2 separate regions of the Homo sapiens genome follow, and region 2 is linked to region 1. The links are contacts of gene promoters, found by promoter capture Hi-C in human tissues and cell types (Jung and others, 2019). All regions are on one chromosome and are shown on one strand. The core of a region is centred on a gene start or on the middle of the fragment in contact, and the rest is flanking DNA. Distances in the headings are between cores, read along the strand shown.

The links. The method cuts DNA at HindIII sites, captures the fragments that hold promoters and counts their contacts. A contact is called where the count stands out against the background at its distance.
Region 2: a fragment that was not itself captured here is called in contact with the fragment with the promoter of LYZL2 in region 1 in 1 of the 25 tissues and cell types used here (mesenchymal stem cells).

What each region holds. Positions count from the first base shown.
Region 1 is chr10:30,624,317-30,631,848 of GRCh38, forward strand. It overlaps LYZL2 (lysozyme like 2), which reads right to left and starts at 5,437. Exons shown (of 5, transcript NM_183058.3): 1 at 5,277-5,437; 2 at 2,461-2,624; 3 at 1,789-1,947. The coding sequence starts at 2,599. The HindIII fragment of the contact is 10,435 bases long and covers 3,697-7,532 here.
Region 2 is chr10:30,425,889-30,432,797 of GRCh38, forward strand. No RefSeq gene overlaps it. Among named protein-coding and RNA genes, the nearest start is that of MAP3K8, 4.8 kb to the right of the region's middle. RefSeq lists enhancers at 5,716-5,775, 6,283-6,909. The HindIII fragment of the contact is 5,454 bases long and covers 2,040-6,909 here.

The DNA.
Region 1 (7,532 bases), core at 4,187-6,686:
ATATAATATCTTCCAGCTTTATTTCTGTCAGGTCACTCAGCACAAGTCATGTCCCTTGAGGGAAGATCTCAGATCCTAGAAGGCAGTCCTCTCCCGGCAGACCTTTTGTACCTCAGTGCTGGTCAAAGCTCTCTTTCCATTCCTCTTTGGGCAAGGGATTCTTAATCCCTCACTTCACTATTGCCATGGTTTTTCTATGATTTGATCAGATCCTTGTAAGTAGAGTCTATTAATATTCTCTTCCAATTACCCAGTTTGCATTTGTTCTGTTTTCCAGCCAGGATTCTTTATGATACAGGAGGTAAAAAATGTAACAACTTGATTCTCAGAAAATATACTCTAGGTGGCTAGAACTACAGGCATATGCCTGGCTATTTTTAATTTGTGTGGAGACAGAGTCTGGCTGTAGGGTCTCACTATGGGGTCTCGCCCAGGCTGGTCTTGAACTCCTGGCCTAAGGTGACTCTCTGACTTCACTCTTGTACCTTGCATGGCAAAAGGGACTCTGCCTGAGTCCTTAGAAGCAGAGAATCTTGCCCAGCTGTGGTTACAGAGAGATCCCATGACAGAAGAAGGAGGAAAGATTCAAAGTGTGAAAGGGACTCGACCCACTATTGCTGGCTGTGAAGATGGAGTAAGGGGCCATGAGTCAAGGGGTGTGAGTGGTCCCTAGAAGCCTGGAATGGCCCTTGGGTGACAACCTGCAAGCAACAAGGATCTCAGTTCGACACCCCCAAGGAACTGAACTCTGCCAAAACCCAAATGAGCAAGGACATGGATTTTCCTACAGAGCCTCCAGAAAGGAAAACAGGCCTGTGAGCACCTTGACTTCAGCCCTGTGAATCCGCTGGCACTCTTCCAGCCTAGAGGACTGTAAGGAAATTTTGCGGTGTTTAAGCCACAAGTTTGTGGTAATTTTTTAGGGCAGCATTAGAAACTTAATTCCTTTCTAAGTGAATTCAATGATATTTTAATGACTCGGTATGTTGGACAAGATTCTCTCCTTCTAAGGACTCATGAGATTGGATTGGCTCCACCCACATTGCCCAGGATAATCTCTCTTGCTCAGGCTCAGATCCTTCCTCACATCTGCAAAGTCCCTTTTGCCATGTAAGGTACAAGAGTGAAGTCAGACAGTCACCTTAGGCCAGGAGTTCAAGACCAGCCTGGGAGAGAACCCCATAGCAAGACCCCACAGACAGACTGTCTCTACAAAAAAAAACAAAAATAAAAATAGCTGGGCATATGCCTGTAGTTCCAGCCACCCAGAGGAGGGAAGGTTGCTTGAGTCATGGAGGTCAAGACTGCAATGAGCTATGAACGCACCACTACACTCCAGCCTGGGCAACAGAGTGAGACCCTGTCTCAAAAAAAGAGAAAAGAGAAAGAAACGTAAATTGTATTCATCTCATTCTGCTCAAAGAAGTACAAACTGCATCCTTTGAGTGAATTGCTTATGGAAAGCAGCTGGCAGGCAGCTTCCTTTTTCTTACTGAAGACATCAAATATCTCTATACATGAAAGCACAGTAGGGTTGTTTGTCCATCCCCCTGCTTTAGGGGAGGGCTTCATAAAACTGTCTACAAGGAATAAGTCATCTTTGGACAAGTCAGCCGCAGGATCCTGAGTGTCACCTTGGAAACTGTTGCATAATTTACCAATCTTGAACAGACCTATTTGCAAGTCTGAACTCCAAATTTTAGTTAAAGCAAGACATGGTTGGTGATCCCATTGTCGGCTTTCTCACCTGGTCCTGAGGATGGCATCACTGGAAAGTCAGAGCCTCACCTGAGCAGGCGACGTGGCAGTGGTTGTTCTCCTTCAGCTTTCCGCGTCTGCACCACGCGAAGCTGTTGATCTGGAAGATGCCGTAGTCGATGCTGCCGTCATCCAGGACCGTCTGGGCTGTGGTGTTGTAGCCGCTCTCATAATACGCCATGCAGATCCCTGGAGGGGGGAAAGCCAGAAACGCCAGCAAAGGAGGTGCCATCTTTTGCTCTAAGCTTGGTCTAAGGGCAAGTTTCCTCATCCCTGTTACCTGACTGCTTCCTCCCAATACACCTTGGGCAGGGCAGGGCGGGCATGTGCCCAGGGGGCACACGAGGGGCACATCAGGGGCTGGGATGGCACACCTGAAGCTGCACACCCAGTCAGGGGCTGAGCCTAATCTAGACCAACAGTCAGGTCCCCCCACTCCCCACAATGCCAGCAGAGGTGGCATTATTTTCCCCTTCCCTGGCTAGTGTCATAAGGACAGGACTCCAGGAATAAGGAAATGAGGGGCAGGGGAGGAAGGAGAGGAGACCCAGAGAGCCACAGTTAGGCCAGCAGCCACCCCTGGGTGTGGTGAGGGCAGAGCAGGGGTAGTTGGGGAGACACAGCAGGGAGTGTAGCCAGGACCTTCAACATCTCAGGGGAAAGGTCAAGGACAGAAAGAGAGCAGGAAAGAAATAATCTCACAGTTTCCAAGGCTGAAGCCCCAGTAATTGTCCAGGCCAGCCCTCGAGAATATTTTTGCCAGTTTGCAACGAGTGTAGATTTTGGACTCGGCGCCTGTGACCAGGCAGCCAATGAGGGTCAGAATGCCCGCAGCCTTCATCCTCAAAGCCTGCCGGAGACAGAACCTGCCAAAGAGCCGGAGAACAGGTCAGACGATCTTGATTCAGGAACTTCGAAATCCAGCATCGGTGACTGTGCACAGCCCTGCCTAGATGCTGCCTGTCACTTTGGTCATTCAGTGCCACCATCAGGGAAAACCGGCCACTCTACGGTCCAGGGAAGGAATGTGACTGCAGGCTGTCTCCTTAATGCTTTTCCATACAGTAACTTTCAAGTCAATGCTGTGTTCTCAGGGTTAAGTAAGTGAAAAAATTAACCTTCCTTAATACACATCCAGGTGAAAACCACAAGGGGCATTTTTAGGATTTCTATTTTAATTCTATGAATGAAAAATAGAATACAGGGGTGAAACATTCCCTATACTGCTGACCCTTGAACATCATGGGTTTGAACTGCGTGGGTCCATTTATCCGTGAATTTTCTTCTGCCTCTGCCACCCCGAGACAGCAAGACCAACCCCTCCTCTTCCTCCTCCACCTCAGCCTGCTCAGTGTGAAGACCACCAGGATGAAGCCCTTTATGATGATCCACTTCCACTTAACAAATAGTAAATATAATATAATAGTAAATATTTACTATTAACAAATAGTTAATATTTACAAATAGTAAATATATCTTCTCTTCCTTATGATTTTCTTAATAACATTTTCTTTTCTCTAGCTTACTTTATTGTAAGAATCCAGTATAGACATAGAACGTACAAAATATGTGTTTATTGGCTGTTCATGTTATTGGTAAGGCTTCCAGTCAGCAGTAGGCTATTAGTCGTTAAGCTTCTGGGGAGTCAAAAGTTACATGCAGATTTTCAACTGAGCAGGCATTGGCACCCCGACCCCTACATTTGTTCAAGGATCAACTGGGTGTGTAGAAACAGACACCCCATTTCAGCCAGAGATGAAATACACGTGGACCTGAATGGAAAACTTTAAGATTCATCGTCTAGGCCAGGCGCGGTGGCTCACGCCTGTAATCCCGGCACTTTGGGAGGCCGAGACGGGCGGATCACGAGGTCAGGAGATCAAGACCATCCTGGCTAATGCGGTGAAACCCCGTCTCTACTAAAAATACAAAAAAATTAGCCGGGTGTGGTGGCATGTGTCTGTAGTCCCAGCTGCTCGGGAGGCTGAGGCAGGAGAATGGCGTGAACCCAGGAGGCTGAGCTTGCAGTGAGCGGAGATTGCGCCACTGCACTCCAGCCTGGGCGACAGAGCGAGACTCCGCCTCAAAAAAAAAAAGATTCATCGTTTGGGGGTTTATTGAAGGGTGAAGATTAAGCACCTAATCTTTCCTTTTCTTTTCTTGATGCATTTCAAAATGTGGGAGCATTGCTTCCAAAGTACTAGTGTTTTATCTTAGATTGCAAATGCATTGCTTTGCTAAGCTTCACAACCAGTGCTCCGGGCGGCCTCCTAAAAGTCTGGCACCTGACTGGGGAGCAAGAGGGATGGAGGACAAAGCCTCATGAAAGGAGGAAAGCACCTGGGGGAGCAGAGGGACAATAAAGAGGCCCCCATAGAATCGTCTGAAATGGGAGTAGGATCAAGAGCGCTGTCTCCTGCTGCCTACTGATTTTCCACAATCTCCTCCCCTCTTAAAATAATGTCTTCCCCAAACACAACAGCCTTGCTGGGATGGGGTGAAGTGAAATTTCTGACAACTACTCGGGATCCTGAACTTGATGTTCTTACATATGTTCATCCCGTGTCATTTTCTGCACTTGCCTGGAAACTTCTCTAGTCATTAGTTTCTCTCCCTGGGGCTGGATTCCTGCATTGAAAGGCTAGGCCCAAAACAGGGATAAGTAGTCATCAGCAAGGCCACCGCACCGAGTAACAAGCAGGGCTTTAAGGTGACTAAGCAATAAGATAAGGAACTGCATTGCATGAGGGGCATGTACATTACAAACGTGAATAGCAAGCGTGGGCAAACCAGGCCCGCTTTTGTATGTAAAGTTTTATTGAAACATAGCTACTCTCATCATTTGGTAATATATTGTTGGTGGCTGATTTCCTGCTGCAGTGGCAGAGTTGAGTAGCTGTGTTAGAGGCTGTATAGACCACAAAGCCTAACATATTATTATCTGGCCCTTTTCAGAGAGATCATGCCAGTCCGTGGTGTACAGCATTGTGCTAAGCTGTGAGGGACAGACAAACGAGGTTTAAGATGCAGAGCTTAGGCTGGGCATGGTGGCCCACACCTGTAATCTCAGCACTTTGTGAGGGTGAAAAGGGCAAATTGCTTGAAGCCAGGAGTTTGAGACCAGCCTGGGCAACAAAGGTAGACCTCTGTCACTACAAAATACACAAAAATTAGCCAGGCATAGTGGTGTGTGACTGTGGTCCCACCTGTTTGGGAGGCTGAGGTGGGAGGATCTTTTAAGGCTGGGAGGTTGAGGCTGTTGTGAGTTGTGATTGTGCCACTGCACTCCAGCCTGGGCAACAGAGTGACATCCTGTTTCAAAAAAAAAAAAAAAGATGCAGAGCTTACAAATAAGGTTGGTTTCCATCCTCTGCCTTAGAATGTTAACTGATCTCAAACAAGTCAAAACAAAACCCGTAGCAATGATAACCCCAAGCATCATGTTCTACATCCTTCAAGAACCTGCCATTGCTGGTTCTCAGGGACAGGTGGCTTCATAAGAGTAATTTAGGTCTTACTGAAAAGGCAGATTCCTGGTGCCTGCCGCAGAGGCTGACTTCTCAGTTGAGTCTGCGGAAGAAACACTGCTCCACTTAGTCGGTGACAGGCAGCTCAGGGGAGCGTCCTGCATCCCCTGAAGCCATGTCTGATTCTAACAAGGCTCGAGTAATCCTTTCCTAGCTCAAGAACCTTTCTTTAGAGTGTTAGAGAAAGAAAAATTCTTAGTCCTTTGTTTCTCACCACCTAGAGATGCTAGAATTCTACTTCTTGGCACTAAAAGCTATATCATCCTGCACGCTTGTGTTCTGAAGCAGGTGCTAACTCTCTTCTGGGCCTTAATACCTCTCGTTTTTTCTCTTTTCCTCTCAACAACTGTCCTCACTACACAACTTGGCCAGGGCCTCCCGTCCAAGTGAGAGCTCTTCTCTAAGGCAACAGTCTGCAAACTTTATCACAAATTCCATTAATAAAGTTAAGCATGTATCCTCTTTAGATGTATATTAAATTATAAATCACACTTCTGTACCTCTGTACTAATATGCTACATAAATTATCAACATACACAAAACTAAAATCTGAAAATGAATGAGAGGTGAAATTAACATTAAAAATTAATTAACAGCACATTTCTTTGCTATAGTTATATTGTTAATTAATAAAATATTGTCAAAGGAGGGCCACAAAAGAAATAAAAAATTTTTATGTATAATTAACATGATTTCATTGTTTTTTAAAAATTTGGCTTAACACTTTGTGACTCAATAAAGAGCTAGTTTGAAGGTCCATTTATTTCTGTGTTCAGATTTAATGACACATTTGAAATGAATTCTCATTGGAATATGTAGATCTCAGTATAAGTTTGTTGTTAGTTGTACCTAACTAATTATTGTATTTTATTAAATTCCATCTGCAAATAATGCAAAGATCTTGTTGAAATCTAGTTTTAAGTTTATATAGTATTACATTGTGTAGATATAACATATTTAGCCAATTCCATATTGACTCACACTTAAGGTATTTTTTTCTTCTATGATAAACATATTACAATTAGTAATCTTGTACATTTGTCATTTGTACATTTGCAAGAATATCTGTAGGATACATTCCTGGAAATTGAATTGCTGGGTTAAGGACTGTAATTTTGTAATTTTGCTAGATATTGCCAAATTGCCTTCCACGTGGGCTTGTATGACGAAGATGGCTAGCATACCCTATTACCAAAGGTTAAGATATTTGCTAATATTAGAGATGAAACATAATTTGTCAGCAAAGTTTCAATTTCAGCTTCCCTTATTTCAAGCTGTCTGAGCATCTTTTCTTATCTTCAGAAGCCATTTGTGGACTTTTTTCTCTCTCTCTCTCTCTTTTTTTTTTTTTTTAATTGAGACAGAGTCTCCCTCTGTTGTCCAGGCTGGAGCTCAGTAGTGTGATCTCGGCTCATTGCAACCTCCACCTCGCAGGTTGAAGCGATTCTCGTGCCTCAGCCTCCCGAGTAGCTGGTATTACAGGCATGTGCCCCCACGCCCAGATAATTTTTGTATTTTTAGTAGAGATGGTGTTTCACCATGTCTGCCAGACTGGTCTCAAACTCCTGATCTCAAGCAATCTGCTCGCCTCAACCTCCCAAAGTGCTGAAATTATAGGCATGATCCACGGCATCTGGCCTGTGTGCTTTTTCTTGTGAATTGTCTATAATACGAGAAAATACATAGGTTTTTCTTCAAACATCTTTTTCAAAGTGCTTTGAAATAGGAATTTTATAGTCAATGAGAAAATAGAGACAGATTGTCTTTTTTTTCAAAAATGCTTGTTTAGCAAGTTTTCGGATACATAGTAAATATACAAAAGCCATTTCTATTCTTATATACTAGGAATCAAAATATTTTAGATTCTTCTAAAATAAAAAATATCATTTACAACAGCACACACAAGAATATGACGTACTTAAATGTAAACCTAACAAAATCTGTGCAGGATATATATTCTGACAACTGTAAGACAGATGAAAAACTAAAGAAGACCTAAGTGGAAAAGAAATACCATGTTCCTGAATTTAAAAATTCTATGTTGTTAAGATTTAATCTATAGATTTAATGGAATTCCAATTAAAATCCCAGAAAATTGTTTTGAAAATATCAATAAGATGATCTTAAAACTTATACGGAAGGGCAAATGGACTACAATAAACAAAACTATTCAGAAAAAGAACAAAATTGAAGGACTCATTCTACATGATTTTAAGACAATATAAAGCTGTAGTAATCAAGAGAGAA
Region 2 (6,909 bases), core at 3,517-6,016, 200 kb before region 1:
CAAAGTCTCACATGAAGATAAGCACACCACATCCTTTTAAATCCGTTTCCCAAACCATTGCATGGGGAAAACACCATTTCAAAAAGACTAATAAATTATTTTTGAAGGGTATAATATTCTAGTTTTATTTTGTTCATTTTTTTTTATTTGATAGAGTCTTATTCTGTTGCCCAGACTGAAATGCAGTGGTGTAATCTTGGCTCACTGCAACCTCTGCCTCCCAGGTTCAAGCAATTCTCCTGCCTCAGCCTCCCAAGCAGCTGGGATTACAGGTGCACGCCCCCACACCCGGCTAATTTTTATATTTTCAGTAAAGACAGGGTTTCCATGTTGGCCAGGCTGGTCTCAAACTCCTGACCTCAAGTGATCTGCCCGCCCCGGTCTCCCAACGTGCTGGGATTACAGGTATGAGCCACTGCACCTGGTCACGCATGTTCTTTTTTTTTTTTTAAAGACAGAGTCCTGCTCTGTCACCCAAGCTGGAGTGCAGTGGCCTGATCACAGCTCACTGCAGTCTCGACCTCCTCAGCTCAGTCGATCCTCTCACCTCAACCTCTTGATTAGATGGGAGTACAGGTACCCCCACCACATAGGCTAATTAAAAAACGAATTTTTTTTAGAGATGGAGTCTCACTATATCGCCCAGGCTGGTCTCCTGGGCTCAGGTGATTCTCCCAGCTCAGCCTCCCAAACTGTGGGATTACAGGGTGAGCCACCATGCCCAGCCCTTTTTTCTGTTTTTATGCATTTACACTTGCATGTACAGGATGGGGATCAGATTATATATATATATATTTAACCAATTCCTCCCCCTGCCCAAACAATATGTTGACAGCAGTTCCCTCCCTTCACAGGCAGAGCCTTCACTGTGCAGTATTTTCAGGCCCTGCATTGTACTGAGGGGAGACAGGACTGTGAGGTTAATATGTAAAGGAGTGAGAGGAGGCACTTAAGGTTGCATATGGGAAATCTCCACCAACTCAATTGGGGCTACACCATAGCATTTAGCCCTAGGCAGTTTAAGGAGATAGGGAGTTGGAGAGAGCATGATTGCTGAGCCTTTCTCCCCCTTTAAAAGTTTAGCAAGTGAGGCCGGGTGTTGTGGCTCATGCCTGTAATCCTAACACTTTGGGAGGCCGAGGCAGGTGGATCATTTGAGGTCAGGAGTTCGAGACCAACCTGGCCAACTTGGTGAAACCCTGTCTCTACTAAAAATACAAAAAATTAGCCAGGCGTGGTGGCACAGGCCTGTAATCTCAGCTACTCGGGAGGCTGAGGCAGGATAATCGCTTGAACCTTGCAGGGGCAGAGGTTGCAGTGAGCTGAGATCACACCACTGCACTCCAGCCTGAATGACAGAGCAAGGCTCCATCTCAAAAAAAAAAAAAAAAAAAGTGTGGCAAGTGAAAGCTACTGCATGCGCATGAGGACACAGTCTTGCACAGTTCTGGGTGCTAGCAGTCCTATGCCATGTGGTCATTTCGGAAGGCCATGATCAAGAAACCCTGCACAAGGAGTTTCCATTTGGGAGGTGGAACACAGGAGCACAGACCAATAGTTCTGTTTTTAAAGTGCAGTTCGAGAACCTCAAATTTGGGGAAGCCACAACACTAAGTAAGTAATAAAATTCTTAACATTTAGCATACAGAATAATGCTATTTAGGCCCTTTGAGAGACCTACATTTTAGTTTTCTGCACATGAGAACAGATGGTCTTGGTTCATATACAGGCCCAATTTACACCCAGCCTTCAAGATAAACAACAGCCACAGCTGAGTGAATTTAGGAACTCCCCTTCCCTTCCCAGGGTTACCGGGGACTTCTCTCCCCTTCCCCCACGGGAGGACCTCATCTCTGCCTGGGGCCCCATTTCCCTTGCTCAGTTGCTATTTTCACTTTACACAGGAAAGGCAAAAGCTGGTGAGCTACCTCCCAAAGGGGAGGAGAAGGAAAACGGAAGGAGGAGGATGGAGAAGACTGTCCCTTTCAACCTTGTCTGCATTCCTCCCCCATAGTCCTAAGGTGGATGGGAAGGGAAGAGGGTTGTAAGAGCTGAGGGCATAGTCTTGCCTATTGCTGTACCATGAATGCATTATAGATACTCATCTCTATTGCTTAAGGCAGGCAGGTGGGCCTGTGGCTCTAGGGCCTGGTGTCTTTCCAATCTCACCTGGGTTGTCTTAGAGGGCTGCTGGGGGACAGCAGAATCTAATGAAGCACCCTGTGGTCCCCACAGGTCTGATGGATGGCTCTGCTCCACCTCAAGATGCTAAGTGAGGCTGAACAGGTTCTCATGACTGCATGGTCATGAATAGAGGGCCTAGCCTGTGTTAGAGGAAGGAGTTTATGTTTTAGGTATTGGAGCAGATGGCCATAGTCCAAGGAGCAGTCAGTGGCAGAGGTGGGGCATGGGGTGGAGCTGTTCGTTCCCACAGTGGAAAAGGCAACCCTAAATGTCTACCTCCGTTGGATACTTCATTCTTTGGGCCGATGTGCCTTTTCAGTGGTATCCAAGGTAACTGCTCTAAGGATGCATGCATTTTCTGCATGTTACTTTGTCATTTTGAAAATCCCGCCCCTCTTTTTTTTTTTTTTTTTGAGACAGAGTCTCACTCTGTCACTTAGGCTGCAGCACAGTGACATGATCATAGCTCACTGCAGCCTCAACATCCTGGGCTCAAGAAACTGAGGACCAGAGAGACTGATATGGAGAACAGGAGGATTGTTTATTTTAGGTATGCACCAGCTCAGTGGATTCGCATCCAAAAAGCTGAGCATTGAACAAAGACTGAGTGGGGTTTTTATAAGCAAACCTACAAAAGCCAAACAAAAGCAATTAATCATACAGTAACAGGTCACATAATCTATAGCATAACTGTTGACTTAGCATAACTTGTGGCCTTGCCTAGCTAGTGACCTTATAGCTGCGTCAAAAGAAAAATAAGAACTGGCTAAATACAGAGATTTGTAAAACATAATCATGCTTAAGAAACCAGGGAAAGGAGTAACAGTAAAAGAATTTGTCTTTTTCTTCTTTTTTTTTTTTTCCTTCAACCTTTCTCTGGAGGGGGGTGTTGTCTGGAGCCCATTCCTTTGTCCTTGGCTTTCTGGACAGCATTATCTTATAACTCTTCTTGAAGTGAGCTTGCTAGGCAGAGGAAAACTTGAAACTTGTTCTTTTCTTTTTAACCTTTGCCGTGCCTGTTACTTTTCTTACAGTGAATGAATGCATATTTATTTTTAAATTTCTGCCTCATCTCAGCCTTCCGAGTAGCTTGGACTACAGGTGCGTGCCACCATGGCCAGTTAATGTTTTAAATTTTTTTTTTTTTTTTTTTGTAGAGAGAGGATTTTGCCATGTTGCCCAACCTGGTCTTGAACTCCTGGGCTCAAGAAATCCTCCCCTGGCCTCCAAAAGTGCTGGGATTACAGGTGTGAGCCACCATGTCCTGCTTGAAACTCTTAATATAAAAAAAATTGCCAGATGTGGTGGCTCACACCTGTAATCTCAGCACTTTGGGAGGCTGACGTGGGTGGATCACATGAGGTCAGGAGTTTGAGACCAGCCTGGCCAACACGGCAAAACCCCATCTCTACTAAAAATACAAAAATTAGCCTGGCATGGTGGCATGCACCCGTAATCTCAGCTCCTCCGGAGGCTGAGGCAGGAGAATCGCTTGAACCCGGGAGGCAGATCTTGCAGTGAGCTGAGATCGTGCCGCTGCACTCCAGCCTGGGCGACAGAGTGAGACTGTGTCTGGAAAAAAAAAAAAAGAAAGAAAGAAAAGGGAAAAAAAACCAGAAAAACTTTAATTATTTTTATTTTATTTTTTATTTTTGAAATGGAGTTTCACTCTTGTCGCCCAGGCTGAAGTACAATGACACGATCTCAGCTCACTGCAACCTCTGTCTCCCAGGTTCAAGTGAGTCTCCTGCCTCAGCCTCCCAAGTAGCTGGGAGTACAGGCATGAGGCACCACACCCGGCTAATTTTTGTATTTTTAGTAGTGATGGGGTTTCACCATGTTGGTCAGGCTGGTCTCAAGCTCCCGACCTCAGGTGTTCCCACCTGCCTCGCCTCCCAAAGTGTTGGGATTACAGGCATGAGCCACCACACCCGGCCAGAAAAACTTCAATTATATCTGAAATCCACTCACATTATCATAAGAAACTTACACATATCAATGAAAAAAAAAAGAGATACTGAATTTTTAGAATCCAATTTCAAATTGTTCACAATTTAAGACAATAATAATAGTTGTAAATGTATTACCTACGTGTCTGTACAGCTTCTCACCTGAAAGTTATTATCAAAAGTATAAAGAAGTTGTTGTTGAAACTCTTAATCTGTATAGCTGTTTCAACATGAAACCATAAAGAAAAAGTTATGATCATGAAATCAGGCTCAAGTTCCTCTTAACTTTAAAAATATCTCATTTAAAGCTTTATTCAAATTATCTACTTTCAATACTTTGTATTTTATTGTTTTTTTTTAACAAAAAACAACATATTTTCGCCAAGTGACCTATAGCTATGCTCCCAATTTATTGCAGTTATTTTATTCACAAAATTCCATATTTTATGAATATAAAAAACTGAGAAACAATGCCCCATATCATATTAATTAGTCTAGAGCACAATTGTGGTTACATCGGTTAATGGGCCAACAGGGTTACCTACCCATTGTTAATAATTTTCTTTCTGTGAGTAAAATAATTTGGATTTCCAAACTACAAATTACAAACCCATTAATGTCCCAACCTATGAGATGGAGCAAGCTTCTTCAGGTAAACTGCAATCGGTTACAGCCTTATTTGCAAATGCATTTTGCTTGCTTCAAACAGCTTCTAGAGAGCTGTTTCGTAATGTGCTTTAGGATCACTTCCAGAATAACCCCCTATGGTTGTGTGCACTGTGGCTCAAGGGACTTCTCATTGGTAGGTTTAAAACTCACTTAGCTCGCCCCTAGAAGAGCAGGATTGTTTTTGTAAGCCTGCATAAAAAACAAAAAGCCAGACCAGAAAAATGCAAGGAGTCTAGGCAAGGTGGCTCACGCCTGTAATCCCAGTACTTTGGGAGGCTGAGGCGGGCAGATCGCTTGAGCTCAGAAATTTGAGACCAGCCTGGGCAACATGGCAAAACCCCGTCTCTAACGCTACCCAAAATACAAAAATTAGCCGGGTGTGGTGGCATGCGCCTGTAGTTCCAGCTATCTGGGAGGCTGAGGTGGGAGGATCACTTGAGCCAGGGAGGTGGAGGTTGCAGTGAGCTGAGATCGCCCCACTGCAGTCCAGCCAGGGCGACAGATCCAGAACCTGTCTCAAATACATCATACATACATACATACATACATACATACATACATACATACATACAGGGAGTCCACAGACTTTTTCTTTCTTTTCAGTTGCTCTCTCCCTTTTGGCCTCCTTGTTAAAAACTCTACATACGTTTTCAAGTAAAACCTTCTAATTTACCCCAACAGATGAACCTGCTCTGGATTAAGCCAGAAGCAAGAGAGAACCCTGCTAGACCAGCCATTTCACCAGCTCCCTAAAATGCAGCTATATTTGGGAGACTTCTGTGTAGGAAGTAAGGCTAATAATGCAGTTCCCAGAAGATTAGGTGTGGTTTTAATGAGCTCACACAAGGCGGGTGGGGAGGGGAGTGGTTCCATGGTTCTATTTTTAAAACTCGTGTAAAGATCATCCTTTGTTGTCTAAACACGGCAGTAGAGAAAGAGACGTCTCTGTTTCTCACGTTACAATCAGAGGTAACAACCTGTGCTAACCTGGTTTCCAGCGAAAAGGCCAAAAGTGTACTGATAACTTCGGCTTCAGCTGAGACTGGGATAACCCGCTTGAGCCAGTGCCAAATTCCACCCATCCGGCGCGCAAGCGAGCGGGGCTTCTCCTCCCCAACCCCGGCCCAGGCTGCTTCTGCCGGGTCAGTGCTGCCGGGTTGGTGGAAGCTGCCTTCCCTCCCTCCAAGATCAGAAAGGCGGAGGGTTCAGGAAGGGGTTCTCCTCTAGGTGCAAGGGACTGCCTGGATATTTGGAGGGAATGGCAAAGCCCTGCTTCATGAGGTGAATGAATATAAATTAAATCGCTCTCGTATTTAAAATAACTTGACGGATGACAGTGCCCATTCAGTCAATCGGCCCTCGACGTTGGATTTGCTACCTGGGCTTGTTGTCTGCGAGTTAAGGTCCTGCAAAAAGCCCCTGGCTTGTCACCTCAACTAACCTATCTCCTCCAGCAATTCTCTCAATACATCCTCGGGTTGTATTGTAATTCATTTTCCATAGCAGAAATGTGGAGGGCTCTAGAGAAGGTACAAGGCAAATTTTTTTTTTAAATTTTATTTTTGGTTGGCCGCGGTGGCTCACGCCTGTAATCCCAGCCCTTTGGGAGGCTGAGGCGGACGAATCACCTGATATCGGGAGTTTGAGACCAGCCTGACCAACATGGAGAAACCCCATCTCTACTAAAAATACAAAATTAGCCGGGCGTGGTGGCGCATGCCTGTAATCCCAGCTACTCGGGAGGCTGAGGCAGGAGAATCGCTTGAACCAGGGAGGCGGAGGTTGTGGTGAGCCCAGATCGCTCCATTGCACCCCAGCCTGGGCAACAAGAACGAAACTCAGTCTCAAAAATTTTTTTGTTTTATTTTATTTTTTAAATTTGAGACAAGGCCTCGCTCTGTCGCCCAGGCTGGAGTGCCATGGCGCAATCATAGCTCACGGCAGACTCGAACTGCTGGGCTCAAGGGATCCCCCTACCTCAGCTTCCGAGGAGCTAGGATGACACGCGTGAGCCACCATGCCTGGCTAATTTTTAGATTTTTTGTAGAGACGGGGTAGCTATGTTGCCCAGGCTGGTCTCCAACTCCTGACCTCAAGTGATCCTCCC